Linked DNA regions of Homo sapiens: regions 1, 2 and 3 are each linked to region 4. Evidence: promoter capture Hi-C in 16 types of primary human blood cells and fetal thymus (Javierre and others, 2016). All regions are on one chromosome and are shown on one strand. The core of a region is centred on a gene start or on the middle of the fragment in contact, and the rest is flanking DNA. Distances in the headings are between cores, read along the strand shown. Region 1 overlaps RBM33 (RNA binding motif protein 33). Region 2 overlaps RBM33 (RNA binding motif protein 33). Region 3 overlaps SHH (sonic hedgehog signaling molecule). Region 4 holds the start of UBE3C (ubiquitin protein ligase E3C).

What was found. Contacts are between HindIII fragments. The CHiCAGO score rates a contact against its expected background, and 5 or more counts as called.
Region 1: a contact is called between a fragment that was not itself captured here and the fragment with the promoter of UBE3C in region 4, in 1 of 17 cell types (monocytes). The highest score is 6.6, in monocytes.
Region 2: a fragment that was not itself captured here is called in contact with the fragment with the promoter of UBE3C in region 4 in 2 of 17 cell types (monocytes and M0 macrophages); the score reaches 6.2 in monocytes.
Region 3: a fragment that was not itself captured here is called in contact with the fragment with the promoter of UBE3C in region 4 in 2 of 17 cell types (M1 macrophages and megakaryocytes); the score reaches 5.1 in M1 macrophages.

The regions. Positions count from the first base shown.
Region 1 is chr7:155,648,752-155,652,037 of GRCh38, reverse strand. All of the region lies in intron 1 of RBM33 (RNA binding motif protein 33), which reads right to left. Among named protein-coding and RNA genes, the nearest start is that of RBM33, 5.7 kb to the right of the region's middle. The HindIII fragment of the contact is 3,307 bases long and covers 1-2,980 here.
Region 2 is chr7:155,771,564-155,775,056 of GRCh38, reverse strand. RBM33 (RNA binding motif protein 33) reads right to left here. Exons shown (of 18, transcript NM_053043.3): 17 at 410-498; 18 at 1-64. The coding sequence ends at 16. Among named protein-coding and RNA genes, the nearest start is that of SHH, 39 kb to the left of the region's middle. RefSeq lists an enhancer at 1-141. The HindIII fragment of the contact is 4,227 bases long and covers 1-3,493 here.
Region 3 is chr7:155,801,971-155,805,379 of GRCh38, reverse strand. SHH (sonic hedgehog signaling molecule) reads left to right here. Exons shown (of 3, transcript NM_000193.4): 3 at 1,654-3,409. The coding sequence ends at 2,480. Among named protein-coding and RNA genes, the nearest start is that of SHH, 8.8 kb to the left of the region's middle. RefSeq lists an enhancer at 1-214 and a silencer at 121-300. The HindIII fragment of the contact is 9,246 bases long and covers 1-3,409 here.
Region 4 is chr7:157,137,676-157,141,027 of GRCh38, reverse strand. It overlaps UBE3C (ubiquitin protein ligase E3C), which reads right to left and starts at 2,102. Exons shown (of 23, transcript NM_014671.3): 1 at 1,690-2,102. The coding sequence starts at 1,755. RefSeq lists silencers at 1,471-1,540, 1,591-1,980, 2,261-2,610. The HindIII fragment of the contact is 7,086 bases long and covers 1-3,352 here.

The sequences.
Region 1 (3,286 bases), core at 78-2,577, 1.5 Mb after region 4:
GAACATATGAGCCTTACAGCATAACTAGTAAGTTCTGAATAGCCAAGCCAAATTTTCAGAAAGAGTTCCTACACCATGTTGCTTTAGAAATAATTTGTAGTCACTGTTTTAAAAATCTCCTATGTTACACGGGCCCCAGGAGAGGTTCTCCCTAAAATGAAGTTTTTATTTTGTTTATGAAGTGTAGTCCTCATTGGTCATTTGTTTGTCTTTCAACAAACTTTCATCATTCAGGGTTTAAAAATCAATCATAATAGAATTCCTGCTTGATATGAGATAGGACCCCTCCTATTATGGAAGTTATAAAGGCTTGCTCTATAAACTTGGGTAGCCGAGAAGAGGCAAGTGAGCTGAGCTCAGCCTACTGGATGTTCCCATCATGACTTAAAATCTATAGGAACTGACACTCATTTCTTTTCCCAGGAACCTAGACCCTTTTTTTTTTTTTTTTTTTTGGTGAGACAAAGAGTTTCCCTGTTGCCCAGGCTGGAGTGCAGTGGTGCGATCTCGGCTCACTACAACCTCCACCTCCTGGCCTAGCCATGAAGCCTTCTAAATGGCTGAGTTTAAGGGATGAAATGTCAAACAAAGAGGAGAAAATGTTGTTAAAAACTTCTAGAATGAAAAAAGGTCACATAAAAAATGATTAGGAATCAGAATGTCCTCAAACTTCTCAAGAGCAGATCTGGATGCCAGAAAACACAACAATACCGCCAAAAATCTTACAAAAATAAACTCAAATCTAAAATTCTGGACCCAACAAAACCACCAATCAAGTTGTGAAAATTAAAATTTCCTTCAGACTCAGGAGTCTCAATCTCAAAAAATTTACCTTCAACACACACACTCAAGAAGCTGTCGGCCAGGTGCAGTGGCTCACGCCTGTAATCCTAGCACTTTGGGAGGCCGAGGCGGGCAGATCACCTGAGGTCAGGAGTTCCAGACCAGCCTGGCCAACGTGGCAAAACCCCGTCTCTACTAAAAATACAAAAATCAGCTGGGTGTGGTAGCATGTGCCTGTAATCCCAGCTACTTGAGAGGCTGAGGCTGAAGAATCGCTTGAACCCAAGAGGTGGAGGTGGCAGTGAGCTGAGATCACACCACTACAACACTCCAGCCTGGGCGATAGAGCGAGAGTCCGTCTCAAAACAAAAACAACAACAACAACAACAAAAAGAAGCTGTGGCATTGCTTAACTCTATATCAATGTGGAAATCTGAACATAAAGAATAATTTTTCTAGGAAAATTTAAATGATCGTAATTGACTTTTCATCTTATAAAACTAAATAAATCAATAATAATACAGGAAATTGAAAAGATAACTTTTTTAAAGGGAACCAGACCCAAATGGCTCTGGAGAAAAGAGTTCTTCCACAGTCAATAACAGATTTTTACACCATCCCAGAAAATTTCACAACTCATTCTAAAAACCAACATATCATAAATAAAAGGATAGCACAAATGTACACACAAATACCAAGGAAGAAAACAGTAAGTCAGTCTCCCTTATGATCAGAGATAAATCCTAAAATGAAATCCAACAATATATTAAAAAGAACAAAATGTGGAGATCAAGATTTTGAACCCCAGAATGCATGCTTAGTTCAGCACTGGAAATCTATCAATAGATTACATTAAGAGATTAAAGAACAGGGGAAGAACACATAATCACAACAGATGCAGAGAAAGCGTTTCACAGCTCAGAGGCAGCACTGGGGATGGCAGTCAGTGCTCCTGGTGCAGTGATGCTAAAGGGGTCAATAAGAACCTGTCCTCAAAAAATTGTGATTGTGCATTGTGACCTGAGCTGAGGAATCAGCTCAGAGACCACCCCTTCAGAACTCTCTCAGAGCTAGAGCGGCATCCCAGGCAGTGCTTGTCAAAAGCATTTAAAGACATCCACTAACCAGGGTCACCTGGGGCAAGGGATGATGGCCAGGGTTAGCAACATACAAACTGAAAAGCCTGGGAAAGAAGAGGCTGAGGAGGAAAATATATGAAGGAATGAGAGTGTTGGGGGCTCCCATGTATAATGGGAAATCTGGAAGACCATGCATATGCTGAAGGCTGGGCACATGCTCAGAAAACAACTTGAAAGAACCCTAGATTTATACCTCTGGCTGATCTTTGAGCTACGCATATGCAGAAGGTGAGGCTAAGGTTGGGGTTATAGGTGGCCTGGATGAGCAATGAAGTAACGTAAGCACAGGAGTTTTTGTTTGTTTTTTGGTTTTGGTTTTGTTTTATTTGCAGCTCCAGCCATTTGAGGACATCTCCATCAGATCACTGGCTGGGCAATGATACAACACAATGGAGACATCAGTGACCACAGGAGACAAGGAATAGAGTCTCTTCATTTGGCAAGTCATTAAAAAACCAGACAACTGAAGGCCACAACAAGAAATATAGCAAACCCAGAAAAGGGGGGGGACATTCTGACTTCCAAAATTTCCACATCACCATATTTAAAATGTCCAATTTTCAGTCCCAAAACTGAGGGACCGAAAAAATCAAGCTAACATGATTTAATCAGTTACACAGGTGAATCATGTGGAATTGACTAACATAAATTAGGATACAATTATATTTTTTCAGATTCATACAGAAAATATGTCATTCTTTAATTCATTCACCAAATATCTAACACATGCTATGTGCCAGGAAGATGTGGAATGCATGGTAAAACAGCATTTTTTCTCCTCATGAGGCTTACAGGCTTATGTGGGAGGCAGATTTAAAAAACAAGTAAATAACTAAAGAAAATTACAAATTGAGATAAACGTTCTGAAGAAAACAAGGGTGCTATAGGTGAGGAAACAGGAAAATATTGAAATTATCCAGTCTAAGGAGCAGAGGAAAAATAAGCAGAGCCTTAAAAAACGGGGACATCATTAAAAGTACCAATCTATGCATTATGGGAGTCCCAGAAGGAGAAAACAAAGTAGCAGGAAAAAGAACTGGAGAAAAAAATAAAAAGCTTCCAAATTTGGTGAAAGACATGAACCTACATATTCAAGAAGCTCACCACTCCAAGCAGGATAAATCTGGAGACCCACACAGAAACACATTATGATCACACTATCAAAAGCCAAAGACAAAGAGAATCTTGAATACACCAAGAGAGAAGTGACATGTCATGTACAAAGGATCCTCCATAAGATTAACAGTCAATTTCTCATCAGAAACGATGGAAGCCAGAAGGTGATAGGATGAAATATTTCAAACTGCCATTCAAAAATTATATCCCCAGGTATGACCTAAGGGACTTTGTCATTAGTACACCTG
Region 2 (3,493 bases), core at 435-2,934, 1.4 Mb after region 4:
CTCTCTTGTTAGGACTCACTCCACGATCAGGGCCACATTTATGTGGGACAAATCTATCATATGCCTGTGAAAATTTAAAGAAACGATCGACACTAACCCTGCACATCGGCAATCAACCTACCAAGGTGGGAGGAAACTAAAAGAGCCCGGTGGGTCCTGTTTAATAAAAACGCATCATATAAAAAGGCAGATTCCCCGGGAAGATCTATTAAAACACAAGGGGCAATTCTCCACCAGACAAAAGGACGCGCGCCTCATGACAGGATCACCGTCTGCGCTTTGTGCCCTAGTGTCCTTCTACAGGAACAGGTGGGGACACACGCTTGCTACCATGATGGATGGGAGGGCACAGGAAGGAGGGCCTTGCTCCCGCCCCCTTATCACCACAAGCACAGAACACACTGGTCACCTGTGGAATTTCTGCTGAAATGCTAATGCGTGGGCTGGCTCCTTGAACTTAGCTATGGCTTTCCGTTGCTGAGGAAGCATCTGTAAACTCTAGAGGAAGAAAACAAACACTTTAAGATCAGTTGTAAATGACAATAAAAAATATGAATATATATATTTAAGCATTATTAGTTTTAACACAAAATGAGTCCAGGCGGACATTTGGAACACACTAATTGATTTTCCTTTCTAGCTCCCTGGCAATTTGTCTTACTTATCTAGATAATCTACTCCAAAACAGTGCTTTACTAAATCATTCCCAACAGCAACAGTTACATCTTCCAAGCCTAGTGTTAAGGCCTCCCATCATCTGGCCCCATCAGCTGCCCCAACCTGCTCTGGGAGACCGGGTAGCAGGTACCCTTGGATAGAGACATCTCCTCTTCTCACGCCTTCTTATCAGGTGATTTTTAATAGGGACCCCCATGAATTTTTTAAGAACAGGACTCATCACACCAGAGGAAACTGTTTAGTATGGGGGCCCCACAGCCCACAGTAGGCAATGGCCCCTAGTCTACCATCTCTGTGCATCTGGCTGGGCCATGGTGAGGGCAGTGGTGCCTGGGGCAGACATCAGCATAACGTGGTCACATTTTGTACTTTAAGAGTTTGTGAACACCAGTCTTAAACAGTGGTATCTGAAATGAAGTCGCCACCCACTGGCCTAAAACAATGCCAGTGAAAAAGAAATGAATTTATGAAGATTGGCCAAAAGAAATGATGAATCCAGTAAAGATTTACAGAGGAAGTGTTTGCAAAGCGAAACTTACATCTAGTCCTCAAATCTGCTGCCTGAGGAAGAGGGGGAGCTGCTTTCTGCTTTCTTAAGCCTTTAGGATCTAGAGCTGGGAGGGGCAGGCAGGAGGAGAGCACAGCCATCTGTGGATCTGTTCAGTGGCGCTCTGTGAACTCTCAAGCAACTCAAAGCTCTAGAGTCTGGTTCTTCTCAATTACCTCAGGACACAGTCAACTTAGTACCTGCTGTCTGGAGCACGCACAGGAGCCCCTGACTCCTTTTTTTTTTTTTTTTTTTTTTTTTTTGGAGATGGAGTCTCGCACTGTTGCCTGGGCTGGTGTGCAATGGCAGGATCTCAGCTCACTGCAACCTCCACCTCCTGGGTTCAAGTGATTCTCCTACCTCAGCCTCCCAAGTAGCTGGGATTATAGGCACCCATCACCACGCCCTAGCTAATTTTTTGTATTTTTAGTAGAGACCGGGTTTCACTATGTTGGCCAGGCTGGTCTCAAACTTCTGACCTCATGATCCGCCTCTGCCTTGGCCTCCCAAAGTGCTGGGATTACAGGCATGAGCCACCGCACCTGGTGCCCGATTCTTCTAAGAACAGGTGTCCCTGGGCAGGTCCTGGCATGGGCACCAGCAAACACTGTCCTGAAGGACTGCATTCAGCAGGCACTTTTGGTGGCCAGAAACTATTTGCTGTGTCTGAGCTTCTGTTCAGTGAAACAGAATAGCTAGAGAAAATAACTAACTACCAGCACATGATCCCTTGAAAATACTGAGGCACATGTGGCCATTTCATTTTAAAGCATGTCAAAGAGCTACAATGGAAGCAAACAGCTAAAAAACATCAGTGACTTGGAAAGTGTTTTAAAAAGTTACACTGTATATGAAATAACTGCTCTCCATTTTAATAACTATAGAATGTCTATCAGTAAACAAGACTAGCAGAGCTCTAAAAGAATACTCAAACACTCCCGAAAAAGGTGTCTTCCAGTGCTTCTACAACAGCGTTTACACAGAAATACAAAGGTTCAAGTCTCCAAATTCAAGGGCATCAAGAAGGCCTGCGCACAGGCTACCCCAGAAGCATCGGCCCTGGTCTAGGGACATCACTGAGACAGGCCAGCAATGAGGCAGCCCACTAGGCAGTAACGGAATTGGTCTGTTTTTTTCTGAAACAAGTTCAGTAAAATATCAGACTTTCTCCCTTCTTTCTGAAATAAAAAATGAATACAAAAGAAATTTGATAGTTTCACTTGTCATTAAGTTAACAGGAAAAGTAAAGCCCCACAACGTGGTCTCCTGGATACATTCTCAGCAATATGGCTTGCAATATGGCTTTCTGGACTTTGAAATTCCGCCTGTATTTCTTGACAGAGACCTGTTTTCTCTCCCAATCTGCCAGACTCATATTTCAGCATGCACCCCTTTTGTGTATTAGCCTGTGAATGATACTCAGTCACTGAAACAATAGAGCAACTTCCAAAGAGAAAATCCTATCTGTTCTGTTCCCAGGTAAGGGGCTGTGTGGAGTGAGTGTCACTTGTCCATCCCAGCCTAACCCTAACCCTAACCTAACCCGAACCTAAACCCTAACCCTAACCTAGGTTAGAGCTGCTGCAGCCGTGCCTCCGGGGTTCTCTCCGTTCTTCCGGCAACAGCACCAGCATGCTCAGTGCTCCAGGATCCTGGGGGGTTTAAACAACACTCAAAAGTGACTGAAACAGTTTCACACAACAGCTGCCAATACTGCAGCAGAGCTTACTGTGAGAACTACAATAATGGACCTTCTCTAAACTTATCTTGTCTAAAAATATAAAAATTCCTTCATTAAGAATGGATAAGGAAAATTTCATATATCATAAAACAATGATCAACATTCTGCAATTCACAGATAGAATCTGGATTTTGGAAGTACTATACTCAAGTGAGGGCCTGTCTCCACAAAAAAAAATCAAAAATTAGCCAGGCCCAGTGGTGTACACCTCTAGTCCTAGGTACTCAGAAGGCTGAGGCGGAAGGATCCCTTGAGCCCAGCAGGTGGAGGTTGCAGTGAATCATGATCACAGGATCATACCACTGCACTCCAGCCTGGGTGACAGAGCGAGACTCTGTCTCCCAAAAATAAAAAATAAAATAAAATAAGAAAAAAGAAAATATCATGCAGTTCTTTTGGGAAATAACATTTCTAGATATATGTGGTGACTTTATTTCCTTTGGGCAATTTCACAATGTGAAATGAGGGTATCAGGCTGCCAATCATACAATATTTGGTATCAGGTTTTACTTGTAATCTACGTAGCT
Region 3 (3,409 bases), core at 380-2,879, 1.3 Mb after region 4:
GCACACTTGTAGGTAAAGGCTAGAGTGGCTTCTCGTCCCCACAGAAAGCAAAGGCGTGGAGCGGGGGCGGCAGGGGCGGGTGTGCGGCCCGGAGAGCTCCCGGCTGCAGGCAGGCAGGAGGCGGCGCCCCCACCTCGCGGGCTCGGCGGCGGCCCCTGGGCCCAGGGCGCCCCCTGCGCAAAACCTCCTCCCCGGCTCCCTGCCCGCGGGGTCCCCCTAGCGGGGGTCTCCGGAGGCCTCCTCCCAAGTGAGCAGCGCTAATCCATCCCCCGGATCGCGCCGGGAGAGCGGAGCCGCGGCGCGGGAGCCGCTCATTGGCATTCTGAGCACACGGGCGGGGGCGCGGGGCGCAGCGTGTCAAGCCGGGCCGTGCGACTCGACGACTCGGGCTCGCCAGCGCCCGGGGTCGCATTCCGGGGGGCTACGGAGGGCCTCCAACGGCCAGCCCCGCACTTCATGCCAGAGAAACCGATGAGAAGATTAAAAGCCCCCTGTAATTCCAGCAGGAAGATTCTTTCTGGCAATCTCTATTTGCAAAAAGCATGATCCCGGAGATTGGAATGCAAAGAAGACGGCCCTCCCCGCCCTCCTCCCCGGCCCCCTGCGCTCCGCCCCAACTTCAATTATTGTCCTGGGGACAGTGAGCCTCAGAGAGCGACAGAGGGCTCGAGAAAGCGGGTAGTCAAGGGGCCTTGAGACCCGGCGCTTCCAGCGCTCCGAACAGGCCCCGCCATTTAAAATTCAAATACACATCTTGAGTGCTTGGAAGAGAGGCCTGGCTGTGCAAATAGTGCTTGTGAATTGCACACGGGGTGGGGGGGGGTTGCACCTGAGCAAATAGGGAGGGGGAGGCCCGCGAGCTGGGGAGAGAGTGAGCTGAGAACAGGGAGGGGAGAAAATGGAAGTGTCCCCTTCCAAGAGTGTCTCCTGTTTATCCCAGAAATCACAATGACAATGCTGGGCCCTTTATTGGATTTTAATTAGAAAATCCACACAAGCCTCGGATTTTCACACCTCGGCCAATCTCTGGAATGTTTGTCCAGTTGCTACAACTACTGCAGCTATTTTTCACTCCCCGCCCCCGCCCCTCCGCAGGCCCACGCCGAGGCGCGGCAGGGTGCTGCGGGCAGGCGGGCAGGCGGGCAGGCGGGCCAGGGGTTTCCGCCGCGCAGCCCGGGTGCTGAGTGCGCGAGCAGGCGCCGCGCCCCGCGCCGGGGCGGGAGGGAAGGAGGGTGCGCCCGGCGCCCGCGGGAGCTCAAGGAGGCTTCCTGAGGAATCCAAGTGCAGAGCAAACACCCTCTGGATGGATTCGCGGCGAGGCCGGGTGTGTGCGGAGCTGGGGGTGGGGTTGGAGGAAGGCGGAAGGAAAGAGTGTCACCGGCCTCTGCAGGAAACGCCAGCCAACCTCTGTGACCGCCAGCCCAGACTTAGAGAGTCGTTAAGGAATGTGTCGGAATCCTGTCCCTGGGGCAGTGGGGTTGGGGGAGGGAGGTGTGTGCGGGACCCGCCTGGAATCAATCGCCCCGCCCCGCGCCTTGCGCACCCCTGGCCTAGGAGCGCGGGCACCAAGCGTGCGCCCTCCTCCCCGAGACGCGCCTCCCTCTCGGAACTCAATGCCCTGTCCTCTCTTCTTTCCCTTCTCCTCACCCGCAGAGAACTCGGTGGCGGCCAAATCGGGAGGCTGCTTCCCGGGCTCGGCCACGGTGCACCTGGAGCAGGGCGGCACCAAGCTGGTGAAGGACCTGAGCCCCGGGGACCGCGTGCTGGCGGCGGACGACCAGGGCCGGCTGCTCTACAGCGACTTCCTCACTTTCCTGGACCGCGACGACGGCGCCAAGAAGGTCTTCTACGTGATCGAGACGCGGGAGCCGCGCGAGCGCCTGCTGCTCACCGCCGCGCACCTGCTCTTTGTGGCGCCGCACAACGACTCGGCCACCGGGGAGCCCGAGGCGTCCTCGGGCTCGGGGCCGCCTTCCGGGGGCGCACTGGGGCCTCGGGCGCTGTTCGCCAGCCGCGTGCGCCCGGGCCAGCGCGTGTACGTGGTGGCCGAGCGTGACGGGGACCGCCGGCTCCTGCCCGCCGCTGTGCACAGCGTGACCCTAAGCGAGGAGGCCGCGGGCGCCTACGCGCCGCTCACGGCCCAGGGCACCATTCTCATCAACCGGGTGCTGGCCTCGTGCTACGCGGTCATCGAGGAGCACAGCTGGGCGCACCGGGCCTTCGCGCCCTTCCGCCTGGCGCACGCGCTCCTGGCTGCACTGGCGCCCGCGCGCACGGACCGCGGCGGGGACAGCGGCGGCGGGGACCGCGGGGGCGGCGGCGGCAGAGTAGCCCTAACCGCTCCAGGTGCTGCCGACGCTCCGGGTGCGGGGGCCACCGCGGGCATCCACTGGTACTCGCAGCTGCTCTACCAAATAGGCACCTGGCTCCTGGACAGCGAGGCCCTGCACCCGCTGGGCATGGCGGTCAAGTCCAGCTGAAGCCGGGGGGCCGGGGGAGGGGCGCGGGAGGGGGCGGGGCGGGGCAGCAACAGCAACGCAAAGCAAAAAGACACTCGGAAAAGGCGCACGAACCAGACTGAGTTATAATAAGAATAAGAATAATAAAGTAGGACAGTCCAAAGTAGACTCTAAGGAAACAAGGACCCCGGGAAGTTTTGTTGTTGTGCTTAGTTGATATATATTTTTTGAATTTTTTTGGTTATTGTTTTATTTTGGTTATTTTTTCCTCCTCTCCTGGCTATTTATTTGTTTGGTATGAATAGATGTTTTAAATAATATGAACCGGACCTTCAAGAGCCTTAAATAGTTTGTTTCTTGGATAATTTATTATGATCATGTGAACTGTACTCACGGGGGAAAGATTATTTTGTGAGGCCAAGCAACCTGCTCAGAGTCTATTTTTCTACATGTCCCTCGTCCCGGCTGTCAGAAAGCAAACCTCTGTCCCCGCCATCCCTCCCTTCCATCTCCTGCTTCTCAGCAAGTGCAAACTCAAACGTGCTTCATGGGGGTCCACAAATTATATTTTTATACACAGAATTGTAAATTAGATTTTTTGAGAGATCAATACTTAACTGAATTACATTTCATTTTTGAAATAGTGTAAAATATGAAAATATATTATTTTAATTTAACTAGTTTCCGATGTAACAGCCATCTCCTCTGTTGTCTTTATGGTTTCATATTCCCTTTGTATTCACCATTTTGCCACATTCTTGGAAGCCAAGACTGTTACACACACAACATACACACACACTTTTCTTTTTCTTTTCTTTTCTTTTTTTTTTTTTTTTTTTTTTTTGGACAAACTGGAAGAACTGTTATTTTTAACTTCAAAGAATTTATTAGAAAATAATATTTTTTAAAAGCGCACATAGTGACGAGCCCACGAGGATGGAGCCTGCAGT
Region 4 (3,352 bases), core at 853-3,352:
GCTCCTGGTGAGATGGGGTTAACGCTAGCCTCCAGCTGAGACGCCTTTTCCTTCCCTACCCAGCTTCCCTCTCGCCCTTCCTCCTCAATTTCACTTGCACAAGGATCTCTTTAGTGTTTGTGAACCTGACTGTATCTTAAGTTATACCTCAATAAAAAGAGTTTTGTTTTTAAAGGGGTGATTCTTTTACACAGCTCGTGCTATCTTCCCTTGAGATTCTGATCAACAGTTAAGAAATCTCACTCCCTCAGAGCAGAGATGCACTCCTTGGTGAAAAGGGACCAACATCCGTGGCCCGTGGGGTGTTCCTGCCTGCAACAGAGGCCGCGCGGCGCTGTGTAAATGGCATGGAGTCTCAGATGGTCTGCCACTAGCTTGCTGTGTGAATGGGCACTCCTTCAAATGTTCTGCAGCTCACCTTCCGAACTTGTAAGCAAGGCGATTTGGCCCTGAGATTCTCTGAAGTCTCTCCTAACTGTAGAAATCCTTTGATCTCATAAAACATTTTCATTAACGTGGAAGACCCTAAGTGCTACCACGACCACCCTTAACTGCACAGTACTTAGTTCTGGAGCACAAGTGACTTCCAAGCAATCACCATCACACGAACCTCAAAGCTGAAAAATTATCAGCACACTTCTCTCCCAACTCTTTACCCAGGTTCCCTTCTAACCTCAGAAACCACCAAACACAGCCCCACAGCACAATCTTAATAACAGCAGTTCCTCCTTGGCCTGCCAGCACCCACTCTGCGTTATGTGCCTACCTGGTGGTTGTGATATACAGAATATACTGATAGACAAGAAAAACTAGGTGAAGCATTTTAAAGAACATTTCAGAAATGATGGGAAGGGGTGGGAAGGGAGGGGCGGGAACAAGACCACACAGTGTTCAACGACTTAGCGGTTCCAGTGAACCAACTGATGCCCGTCTTCAGGGACAGACAGCTAGAAATTCTAGACTAGAACAGAGGCGTCATGGTTTGCCTACCCTTATCCTAAACAATTACCATGCGAACAACTTAATGTCGATCACAACAGATGTAAGTCCGGAGTCTCTCCACAGTTTCCAGGAGGCTGGTGGCAAATAATTGCCCTCGTCTTGGATTCAAACACGTGGCTATTCATGAGACGTTCTGCCTCTACTTTAGAGATTATCGACATCAGCAAATGCGTGCCGTTCACCTTCTACAACCGAAAACGCCCTTCAGGTGGCATTCGAAAAGCAGCCACTCCCTGATGCCATGCGGGAGCGAGCATGGAAAGCGCATTTCTGAAAGGAAACACCCAGAAAGGGTAAGTTCACCTTGGGTGGCACAAAGCGTGCCAGGGTTCACCGGCCTCCTGCATGGAAGGGAGCCACGGCCAGCGCGCCCGGGTCCCGAAGCGCAGTGGACAGGCAAGGCCCCCACGGGCGCGGCCTCGAGTTCCAGCCAGGGAGGCCCCGAGTCCAGTCCTAAGCCCCAGCCAGAGTCCTGGCCCCAAGTCTCGGCTCCGAGTCCAACCCCGAGTCCCGGCCGGAGCGGCCCCGAGATCCGGCGAGGAAGCCCCGAGTCCCCGCCAGGGAGGCCCCGAATCCAGCCCCAAGTCTCGGCCCCGAGTCCAGCCCCGAGTCCAGCCCCGAGTCCCAGCCCCGAGCCCCGGCCGCGCAGGCCCCGAGCCGAGGGCGCCCCGCCAGCCCGGCCCTCACCTTCCTGCTCGCGCCGCCAAGGGACACCTTGGGCCGCGTCTTGAAGTCGCCTTCGAAGCTGAACATCCTGGCAGCCTAGCCCATGTGCGGGCAGCGCCGCCGCGGAAGCAGCCGGGCGGGCGGGGCACGGGGCGGGCTGGGAGGCTCTCGGCGCCCGCCCGCCCGGCCCGGGGCAGCGAGGACGCGGCGGCCGGGAGGCGACCCGAGCCCGCCCCCGGGCTGTACCCTCCCAGCCCTGCCCTGGGGCGGGAGGGGCGGCAATACTGGAGGGGCGGCCCTGCCTCGCCTGCCCCTCATCCACGCCGGCCACAGCTCGGGCCGCTGCAGGGGCGCCCAGCGGGCAGCAAACCCGGCGCTTGCACCTGGAACTGCCGCCTCGGGAGGGAAGATGGCGGTCAGCCGTCAGTGCGTGCGCGGCCCTGCAGACGTGCGCGGCCCTGCAGACGTGCGCGGCCCTGCAGACGTGCGCGGCCCTGCAGACGTGCGCGGCCCTGCAGACGTGCGCGGCCCTGCAGACGTGCGCGGCCCTGCAGACGTGCGCGCCTCCGCCATTGACGGCACGGCGCTCTTCCCGGCGGTTCCGCTAGCGTGCGCGGCCCCGCAAGGCGCGCTGGAGCCTGGGGAGGACGGCGGTGACGCGGGCTGGGCACGCGGCGGAGTGGGCGGGGCCTGGTGCGTGCTGGGGGAGCGCGGCGAGGGGCGCGGGAGGTGTTGGGTGCGGGGCAGGGTGCGGGAAAGGTGGAGTGCGAGGCACGGGCCGGGATGGGGTGCAGGGCAGGGTGCGGGGTGCAGGGTGGGGTGCAGGGGCCGGCACCCGGAGCGGGCTGGGAGCGGCCAATCTGGTGCCAGACTCGAGTGAGGCGGGAAAGGAGCAGCTAGGCCCAGCCCGTCTGTTTACATCCCACCTGTTCTATGTCTATGACACGCACAGACGGACGTAAATATTTACCATGTACACAGACATGCGCAGATTTGCCTCATACATAGCACACATATGCATCTATAGATACAGCATCAATACATATAAATATGTATCATGTACACATACCTGTGTATGCAAAAATATTTGCTCCTGGACTTACCATGGGGCTTTGTCCTGATAAACCCATCGTAAGATGAAAATATTGTAAGTTGAAAATGTATTTAATGCTACAATAAACCCATCACAAAGTCAAAAAATTGTAAGTTGAGCCATTTTAAGTTGGGGACCACCTATACATAAACATGTGTCTTATATCCACACATACGTATACATAATATCTCATATACATGTGCATATACATATATATCATACACGATTGAAACCAATTTCTAAAAATTGATTTTTGGTTGTATACAAGGTGTGCAACATGATGATTTCATAGAGACATTGTGAAATGACTACCCTCTTTGTGTGTGTGTGGTAAGAGTACATAAAATCTACTCTCTTAGCAAAATTTCAACACACAATACGATATCATCTACAGTCGTCCTGCGGCCGAGCACGGTCGCTCACGCCGGTAATCCCAGCACTCTGGGAGGCCAAGGCGGGCGGATCACCTGAAGTGAAAAGTTCGAGACCAGCCTGGCCAACATGGTGAAACCCCATCTCTAATAAAATACAAAACTTAGGCCGGTGTGGTGGTGCACGCCTGTAGTCCAAGCTACTCTGGAGGCTAAGGCA